3 separate regions of the Homo sapiens genome follow, and all the other regions are linked to region 2. Evidence: promoter capture Hi-C in 16 types of primary human blood cells and fetal thymus (Javierre and others, 2016). All regions are on one chromosome and are shown on one strand. The core of a region is centred on a gene start or on the middle of the fragment in contact, and the rest is flanking DNA. Distances in the headings are between cores, read along the strand shown.

What was found. Contacts are between HindIII fragments. The CHiCAGO score rates a contact against its expected background, and 5 or more counts as called.
Region 1: the fragment with the promoter of ZNF135 here is called in contact with the fragment with the promoter of ZNF304 in region 2 in 3 of 17 cell types (naive CD4 T cells, total CD4 T cells and non-activated CD4 T cells); the score reaches 8.6 in naive CD4 T cells.
Region 3: the fragment with the promoter of ZNF417 here is called in contact with the fragment with the promoter of ZNF304 in region 2 in 4 of 17 cell types (non-activated CD4 T cells, total CD8 T cells, total CD4 T cells and 1 more); the score reaches 6.7 in non-activated CD4 T cells.

The regions. Positions count from the first base shown.
Region 1 is chr19:58,057,832-58,060,531 of GRCh38, forward strand. It overlaps ZNF135 (zinc finger protein 135), which reads left to right and starts at 1,451. Exons shown (of 5, transcript NM_001289401.2): 1 at 1,451-1,479; 2 at 2,138-2,204. The coding sequence starts at 2,172. The HindIII fragment of the contact is 3,956 bases long and covers 449-2,700 here.
Region 2 is chr19:57,349,877-57,352,576 of GRCh38, forward strand. ZNF304 (zinc finger protein 304) reads left to right here and starts at 1,395. Exons shown (of 3, transcript NM_020657.4): 1 at 1,395-1,821. The coding sequence starts at 1,789. RefSeq lists enhancers at 571-1,430, 1,388-1,477, 1,431-2,289, 1,628-1,697. The HindIII fragment of the contact is 5,195 bases long and covers 1-2,700 here.
Region 3 is chr19:57,915,342-57,918,041 of GRCh38, forward strand. It overlaps ZNF417 (zinc finger protein 417), which reads right to left and starts at 1,251. Exons shown (of 3, transcript NM_152475.3): 1 at 1,038-1,251. The coding sequence starts at 1,070. RefSeq lists enhancers at 1,008-1,297, 1,316-2,171, 1,568-1,627. The HindIII fragment of the contact is 13,199 bases long and covers 1-2,700 here.

The sequences.
Region 1 (2,700 bases), core at 201-2,700, 710 kb after region 2:
CTGGCTGAGAAAAACAGAGGATCAGAAGGTCTGAGGGAGGAAACAGAGGGGCAAGTTTGAGGGAGCTGGGCAGGGCCGCCTGGCCACCATCAGGGCTGAGCAGGCTCAGTGTGGCACCACTGACAGCTTCTCACCAGGACTATCAGACCGCTTGGGAAAAAGACTTCACCATGAGTTGTGTGTTCATACCTTTTGATCCAGTAAAAGGAAACGGTTGGGGGTGGGGGTGGGGGGCAAGAGTATACATTTTGTGAAAGAAAAAATACACAAAAAGATGTTTTGTGGCATTTGGGTTTGTGAGTTCGAGAACTGAAAAACGGCATTTTATGTATAATGGAAAGCCTCTTTACTGCTGTAGAGTGAAAAGCAGGCTGGCTTTCAGTGCGACGGTCACAAATGTGGGGCTTTACAGTACTTGGAATGTACAGGACGCCCTTAAAAGCCAAGAAGCTTGCCTTTGCTTTGTTTACATCAGTGCATTATGATTTTGAGCCATTATATCTCTTCATAATTGCCACTGTTTTAGGGCTTATGAAATTTAAAGTCTTAACTTGTGTGTTAACCAGCCAAATCTTTGCAAGTGTCTGTGTGTGGTACGAGAATTCGTATTGTGTTCTCTGCTGTTTTCAGAGTTGTTTCAGTCAAAGAAAAAAAAATGCCCGTCTTAAAACTTTTCCTCTGCTTCAAATACAGCTCCCAAGCCCAGGCTGATTGGAATTAATCTGTCCTCCCTTAAAAGGGCAAAAGCACAAGGCTCAGCCCTGGCTTTCCCAGCTCCTCTGGTCTCGCTGCTCCACGGACGTGTGACGTACGCTGGTGAAACGAAGCCCGCTTGAATGGGGGCTTCACTATTGTGTGCTGCTGAACCTAGGCCTAGCGCCTGGCAGGCTTTGGTGAATGTTCAGAAAATGACAATTCATTTCGTGTCAGCGAGGGCACACCAGCTTTGAATATTTTGCTGCTGTTCAAATGCACAATTTTGACAATTACCTAGCAATGTCCAAAGTCGTCATAATTGTTAGTGTCTTGCACGTGATGTTCCTTATAACCATGTAATAAATACAGTGTGAAGTCTCCATGGCTGCCTCAGTGTGGAAAATGCAAAGACTCCCGTGTGTGCGATCTTGGTGAATGTTTTGGTTGAAAGTATGTGTTTTGAAAAAATCATTGCTTTGTTTGCAGCAGTAAAACTGACGGTAGAGTTTCCAACACGAAAGCCCGTGTGGTCGCGCCGGGAGCTCACGGCGTTCCAAGCGGCACTTATCCCGCGTTGATGCCCAGGCACCCCGCGCGCCCTGTTTCACCAGGCCCAGTCACTCCAGCTCCAGCAGCACTGAGAGCTCACGAACGCCAAGGGCGAGAGCGAGGTGGGGGAGGGCGGCCGGAAATGCGCGCGCGGCTCTCTGGGAAATGGAGTTAGGCTCGCGCCGGCGCAGTGTCGGCTGCCGGTGCCGCGGCCTTTGTCTCGCAGTCAGGAGGGTGAGCTAGGCCGGCGAGGAGGGGGAGGGGAGGCCAGGCCGGGCCGGGCCGGGCCGGGTGCGGGGGGTCCGGGGATCTTCCTGAGGCCCTGGCGGGGCGAGTTTCCAGCAGCGCGCGTCTGTGTGGAGTCCGTTTTGCTGCCCGGGGCCTGGGGAAGGCCGTTTCGGGGCTGGCGGGGGCAGGCTTTGCGGGGCATCCCTAGTCTGAGAGGAGGGCGGGGCCCAACGCCCAGCTGGACAGGAGCTGCTCCGACGGCCCCTGAGGGAACGCGCGCCCCGCCCCTGGCCCCACCTCTGCCCCACACCGGGCACTGGGCCGCCACCTTTGTTGATGGAAGAGAGAAACTGAGGCATAGTGCCCAGGGCCAGGGGACCGCAACCACCCGGCCCTTGTCACTGTAGCGTTAAGGCTCAGAGTCTGCGCAGCAGATATGTGTCCGCACCCGCCAGGCCTTCAGCTTCCCTCAGACAGGCGGGAAAACCCTAGGCTGCCCTTCTCCGAGCGGAGGGCCGCCCCACACACAGCAGGCGCTTAAACGGGTACGCGGGGCCCTGGACGGCTCTCCGCGGAGCTCCCCAGGCTCTGGCGCAGTTCCCCGGCTTGGGGACCTGAGCACCGCCTCTGCCTGCCCCAGCTGCTCACCTCCCCTTTCCCACAGAGCAGGGCCAGCCGTTCCTGCCAGAAGCCAGGGCATGACCCCTGGGGTGCGCGTCTCCACAGACCCGGTGAGAATCTCGGCCTCCTTGCGCGTGTCCTCCACCTCGTGCCCGGCCTCCTCGCGCGCGGCCTTCTCACGCCCGGCCTCCTCTTTGCACCCCGTCCCTACTCGCGCTCAGCCTCCTCCTTGTGCCCGGCCCCTACTTGCGTGCCCGGCCCCTACTCGTGCCCGGCCTCTACTCGCACAACTGGCCTCTACTCGCGCACCTGGCCTCTACTGGTGCCCGGCCTCTACTCGTGCCCGGCCTCTATTTGCACATCTAGCCTCTACTCGTGTCCGGCCTCTACCTGCACACCCGGCCTCCTAAAGTCCGCGCCAAGCTCCCCAACCACAGCCTGCCTCTGAAAGGACCGCCCACGCCGCGCTGGAGGTCAGCGGGCACGGGTCCCTGTCTGAGTGGGCTTTATGTTTGTGCGGCCGTCATTGCATACCTGAGGCTGGGTGATGTCAGAAAATTGTAGGTGCCCCGGCTCTGCAGTCTGAAGTTGAAGGCCTTAGCATGC
Region 2 (2,700 bases), core at 145-2,644:
CAAAAATTATAACCATTAGGGGCTCCCACCTGTAATCCCAGCACTTTGGAAGACTGAGGCAGTTGGATCACCTGAGGTCAGGAGTTCGAGACCAGCCTGACCAACACGGAGAAACCCCATCTCTACTAAAAATACAAAATTAGCCGGGCATGGTGGCGGATGCTTGTAATCCCAGCTACTCGGGAGGCCGAGGCAGGAGAATCGCTTGAACCTGGGAGGGAGAGGTTGCAGTGAGCTGAGATCGTGCCATTGCACTTAAGCCTGGGCAACAAGAGTGAAACTCTGTCTCAAAAAAAAATTATAACTATTATCTATGATGCTATTTGATGAGTGAGGGAATAATTGTACTTTTTTCTTTTTTTTTCAAAATCACACTGATCCTGAAAAGGTGGATCTTTGATTTATCTTCCTAAAGCAGTGTATGTGAGAACCTTGTGTTGAGGAAGACTGATAACAGCTTGTATGTATTTAGCACGATGTGCCAGGCCTGGTGTTAAGTACTTTTTACCTCACTTCCCATATTCCTAATGAGGTTGGTTGTAGTGTTTTTCATCTTACTGATTTTTTTTTGTTTGTTTTTGTTTTGTTTTGTTTTTGGCTAATGACTTTAAAAGACCTCCAGTTCTTGAACTTCAGCTAGGGTCCCATCCCCAGAGTTTATCAGAAGGTATAGGTTGGGTCCAAGAATTCACAGGTTTTTTAAGTTCATAGTGAAGCTGATGCTGTAAAACTACATATCAAATTGGGAAGCAATGAATTAGAAGAGGCTCATGTTTTCGTCATGTTACATGTAAGTTCCTCCTTCACTTTTCGCCATGAATAAAAGTTCCCTGTGGCCTCACCAGAAGCAGATACGGGCACCATGCTTCCTGTACAGCCAGCAGAAAGGTAGCTAATTACATCTCTTTTCTTTATATGTTAGAAAAATTAGAAGGACATTCAATGTTTTACAAAAAGGCCCACAAACGAAATACAGACAACGTTCAATTTATTAATACGTTTCAATCCCCAAATCTGAGAGAGGTGAAGCAGGTTTCCCAGGGCCTCAGAAGCAGGATTGAAGAATGGGTCCCTTGCTGGCGACTTCAGTGGCGTGGCATTGTCCCAGGTGGCCATGGAAATCAGGGTGCATACCCTTTAAAAGCAGCTGTGGCCTCCGAGATATCGTTTTCCCAGTCTTTTCTCCCCCTCCCTGCACGACGCCTCTTGGCAGACATCCGGGAGAACCCGAAAGGCGCTCGTTGCCTGGTTGGATGCAGGGTACAAACTACGTTACCCAGAAATCTGTGCCCAGCTCATTGTTAGCCGGCGTGCAGCCAATGACAGCCCAGAAACTGGGCGTTTCCTGCTGCTCTGGGCTGCAGGGGCGAGACTTCTGGCGTCGCCGTCGTGACGTATTTTTCCTATGCCCGGTCCGTGCATTCTGGTTGTGAAGGCTGAGTTCTAGAGATCGGGTCGGCTTTCTACGCGGCTCTCGTGGAACCTAGCAAAGAAAGACAGTGAAGACTGCAGGACCTTCCTTCGCGCTTTTGTTACAATCCATGACCCCTGTCGTGGGACGGGCGGCCTCTCGCGGAGGTGTCTGCCGGGGCTGGGCTCTTACCGAGGCCTCCACACACGTCCTCTTGTCCTTGTCTCCCCCAGAAGCAGCCGCCTTAGTCTTGTGAGCGTTTTTACACCGGGTAGATTGAGACTTGGAGTGCTACACTCAGCCCGAGGGCGTCCAGCGCGGTGGAGGCGTGGGGTTTCGGCTGAGCCCACAGGGCACAGACTGTTCATCCGCTTCTCATGGCAGCGGCGGTGCTGATGGACCGGGTTCAGGTGAGTGGGGGCATCCCTCAAGCGCACCCCGGCCTGGTTGGTGTGTCCTGGGATGTTCGCTCTCATCGCGCACTTCAGGGTGCTCACTCCGTCGCATTATGTGGAGGGGTTCCGCTCCCCTCATCAGTGGCATAAGGTGTGGAACGGACTCGAAGGCGCAGGGGCAGTTCGTACAAATGCATGCATGGAGAGGAGAATGAGTTTGGGGAGTTCCGGGAACTCTCTGTGCCTGGTGAGAACAGGGACTAGGGGGTCAGAGGTAGGCCTGGAATGGCCGCCCGAGGAGCTGGTCCTCTCTTCTGAGGGTGCTGGGAGTCATGCAAGGTTTGGTACAGAGAAGGGAGGTCCTCTGACGCAGTTCTTAAAAGGCTCCCTCTGGCTGCAGAGTGGGTAGACTAGGGATTATAGGGTAGACGGGGAGATCAAGATGAAGTCTACTGAAATAGTCCAGGTGAGCGTTGATGGTCTGGGCCAGAGTGGTGGCAGCAGAGGTTAGAGAATGTATGGGTTTTGGGTTTTGTATGTATTTTATAAGGAAGGCTGACCAGATTCTCTGATGAGACATAGTGATGATATCCTGGGATTCTTCACATGACTGTCTTCACTTGAGACAGGGGGCAGTGAATGGAGGTCATTTCTAGTTTAGTGTCCTGAATCCAGGCCATGAGTTGTATGGAGTTATGTGGAGAAGTCCCCACCTGGCGACCAATGGGATGAGTACTGCAAAAGTATATCAGACCTAGGAACAGGTACGCTCAAATGCTTGTAGGATTGAGTTTGGAGCGCTCAGGGAATCTCAGGTCTTAATTACCTTTGTTGGAAACAGGTATCAGAGGAAGGAGTTAGGCAGGAATGGCTGGCCGAGGTGTCTTGAGTGTG
Region 3 (2,700 bases), core at 1-2,500, 570 kb after region 2:
AATGCACAGCCCTCGGCCTGCTTACTCTTCCAGGGAGAGCTCCACCTCACACTTTGTTCCAGACAGGTTCCATCCTCCCGGCTCCGTCCATCTCCAGGCCATTGCCTGCGCCCCTCCCTGTGCTTGTTGCTCTCCCCACCGCATCCCACGGGTGTCAGAAACAGGTGAAACCGTCTTTGCAAAATTATAACTGAGGAAATTATGACAGTGAAAGAAATCAGACCTTACTGACTCCGTCTTGCTTCCAACCTTTCAGCTGTCCTTGTTCATTCCTGGGTATAGGCTGAATTAACTTAGGGAAGGAATTCAGTTCATGGTTTCACTCTGAAACAAAATTGATAATAGCCCTTTCCTGAAAAGACCCCCTTCTTGCCTGGAGAACAGCCTGCCTTTGCAGGACTAACGAATTAGCTACAAGGTTAGAAATTACCGTTTAGGGGTCATGCAGCTTCTGACTCCAAGAGTCTGAACCTCCCCAAGTTGCTCCTGAAGATAAATCACTATTGTAAAACCTAAGATCAGTGCTTGAGGTATTTTGCAGATCCTGCACTGGATGGATCAGCTGACAACACACAGACCGGTAATCTGGGTCAATCAGTTCTGCCATCCCACCCAGAACAGAAAACAGCATGAAAAACTCACTTTAACCCTCTATGAATCCATCTCAGGTCCCAACCCTTACCGCCAAATTAATGTTGAAAACTCTGATCCCGGAATGCTAATGGAGACTGATTTGAGTAATAATAAAACTCCTGTCTCCAGAACAGCCTGACGGCTCTGCGTCAATTACTATTTCTCCATCGCAATTCTCCAGTCTTCATAAATCGGCTCTGTCTAGGCAGCTGGCAAGGTGAACCCACTGGACAGTTACACAGGGACCCCCACTGGACAGTTACACAGGGACCCCTCCTGCGAGCGCCTCAGTGTTCCTACGCCGGGTACCGGCTACAGACCCGTGAGCAGGAGCCGCTCCCTCGCTGGTTTAGGACCTGGGTGACGATGGGGTGACCTGAGGGCACAGAAGGCGCCACAATTACCTGAGTCGGGCGCCTCGGCGCAGCCGCTGCCATCGGACTACTTGGGGAAGCACGGCCCGGGAGCAGTGGTCGCCGTCACGGGGCTGCAGAGCCGCCTCTGGGCACCGAGGACGATTCCTCTCCACCTTCTAGGTTCAGTCACCGCGGTCCCCCCCCAGCACTCAGGGGCCACAAACTGGGGAAACACCCGCGTCACCGATACACAGCCGCTACTAGAGACCCCGGAAGTCTCAGCCTTACGTTACGTGCACACGTGGAAATGCCTTCTTTCCGAGTGCTCATTGGCTCTGACCGGCTGTCGTTTAACGCAGAGCTTTCTGGGTAATGTAGTTCCCCACTTTCCATGGCGCTAAAAAGAGCGATACCCAGAGTCCATCTGCAGGAAAAGCCCGCCATCAGGTCAGGGGTTCTCCTTAAAAAGCGCACCCTTCTGGCCGGGCGCAGTGGCTCAAGCCTGTAATCTCAGCACTTTGGAAGGCGGAGGTGGGCGGATCACGAGGTCAGGAGATGGAGACCATCCTGGCTAACACGGTGAAACCCCGTGTCTACTAAAAATTCAAAAAAAAAAAAAGTTAGCTGGGTGTGGTGGCGGGCGCCTACAGTCACAGCTACTCTGGAGGCTGAGGCTGGAGGAGAATGGCGTGAACCTGGGAGGCAGAGCTTGCAGTGAGCTGGGATCGCGCCACTGCCCTCCAGCCTGCGCGACAGAGCAAGACTCTGTCTCAAAAAAAAAAAAAAAAAAAAAAAAAAAAAAAAAAAAAAAGGCGCCTTTCTAGGGCAGAGGAGGGGTCTCACCTAGCCTTAGAAGCCGTATTGAGATTCCTGGAGACTAGTGTCTGTAACTAATCACTCAAGAATCTGGAAAAATACTGTTTCAGATTTCGGGGAGCGCAAGGTAAATAATAGGGAGCTCAAGCTAAAACTATTATTTAGGATTCTCCTAAAGGCTAAAAATCCAAATTACCACACCGTTTGAAACAGTCGTTCAGTCGCAAAATACCTGCACTGGAAGCAGAGGCTGATAAGCGTTGTTGTGTTATAATGTGTCTGAAGGCCCTCAGAAGCCTTAGAGTGCCTAAGGCAAATGAAGGAAGTTAGGGATGTGCTCCCCTATAGCAGGAGTGCAAAGCTGAATCTCTGTGATTCCTACAGAAAACAACTCTCCTGCTGATAGAATCTGTGAAAGGAAAATCTTGTGGCCTCAAAATTACTAAGCTAAAGGGAAAAGTCAATCTGGGAACTGCTCAGGGCAAACTTGCCTCCCATTCTATTCAAAGTCTTCCCTCTCCTCACTGAGATAGATGCCTATTCTGATTGCCTCCTTTGGAAGGACTTATCAGAAATTAAAAAGAATCCAACTATTTGTCTCTCTACCTGTCTACCTGTGACCTGGAAGTCCCCTCCCTGCTTCGAGTTGTTCCCGCCTTTCTGGTCGGAACCAATGTACTTCTTACATATATTCACTGATGTCTCATGTCCCCCTAAAATGTATAAAACCAACCTGTACCCCAACCACCATGGGCACATGTCGTCAGGACTTCCTGAGGCTGTGTCACGGGCATGTGTCCTCAACCTTGGCAAAATAAACTTTTTCTTTTATGAGACGGAGTCTCGCTCTTTGGTCAGGCTCGAGTGCAGTGGCGCGATCTCGGCTCACTGCAAC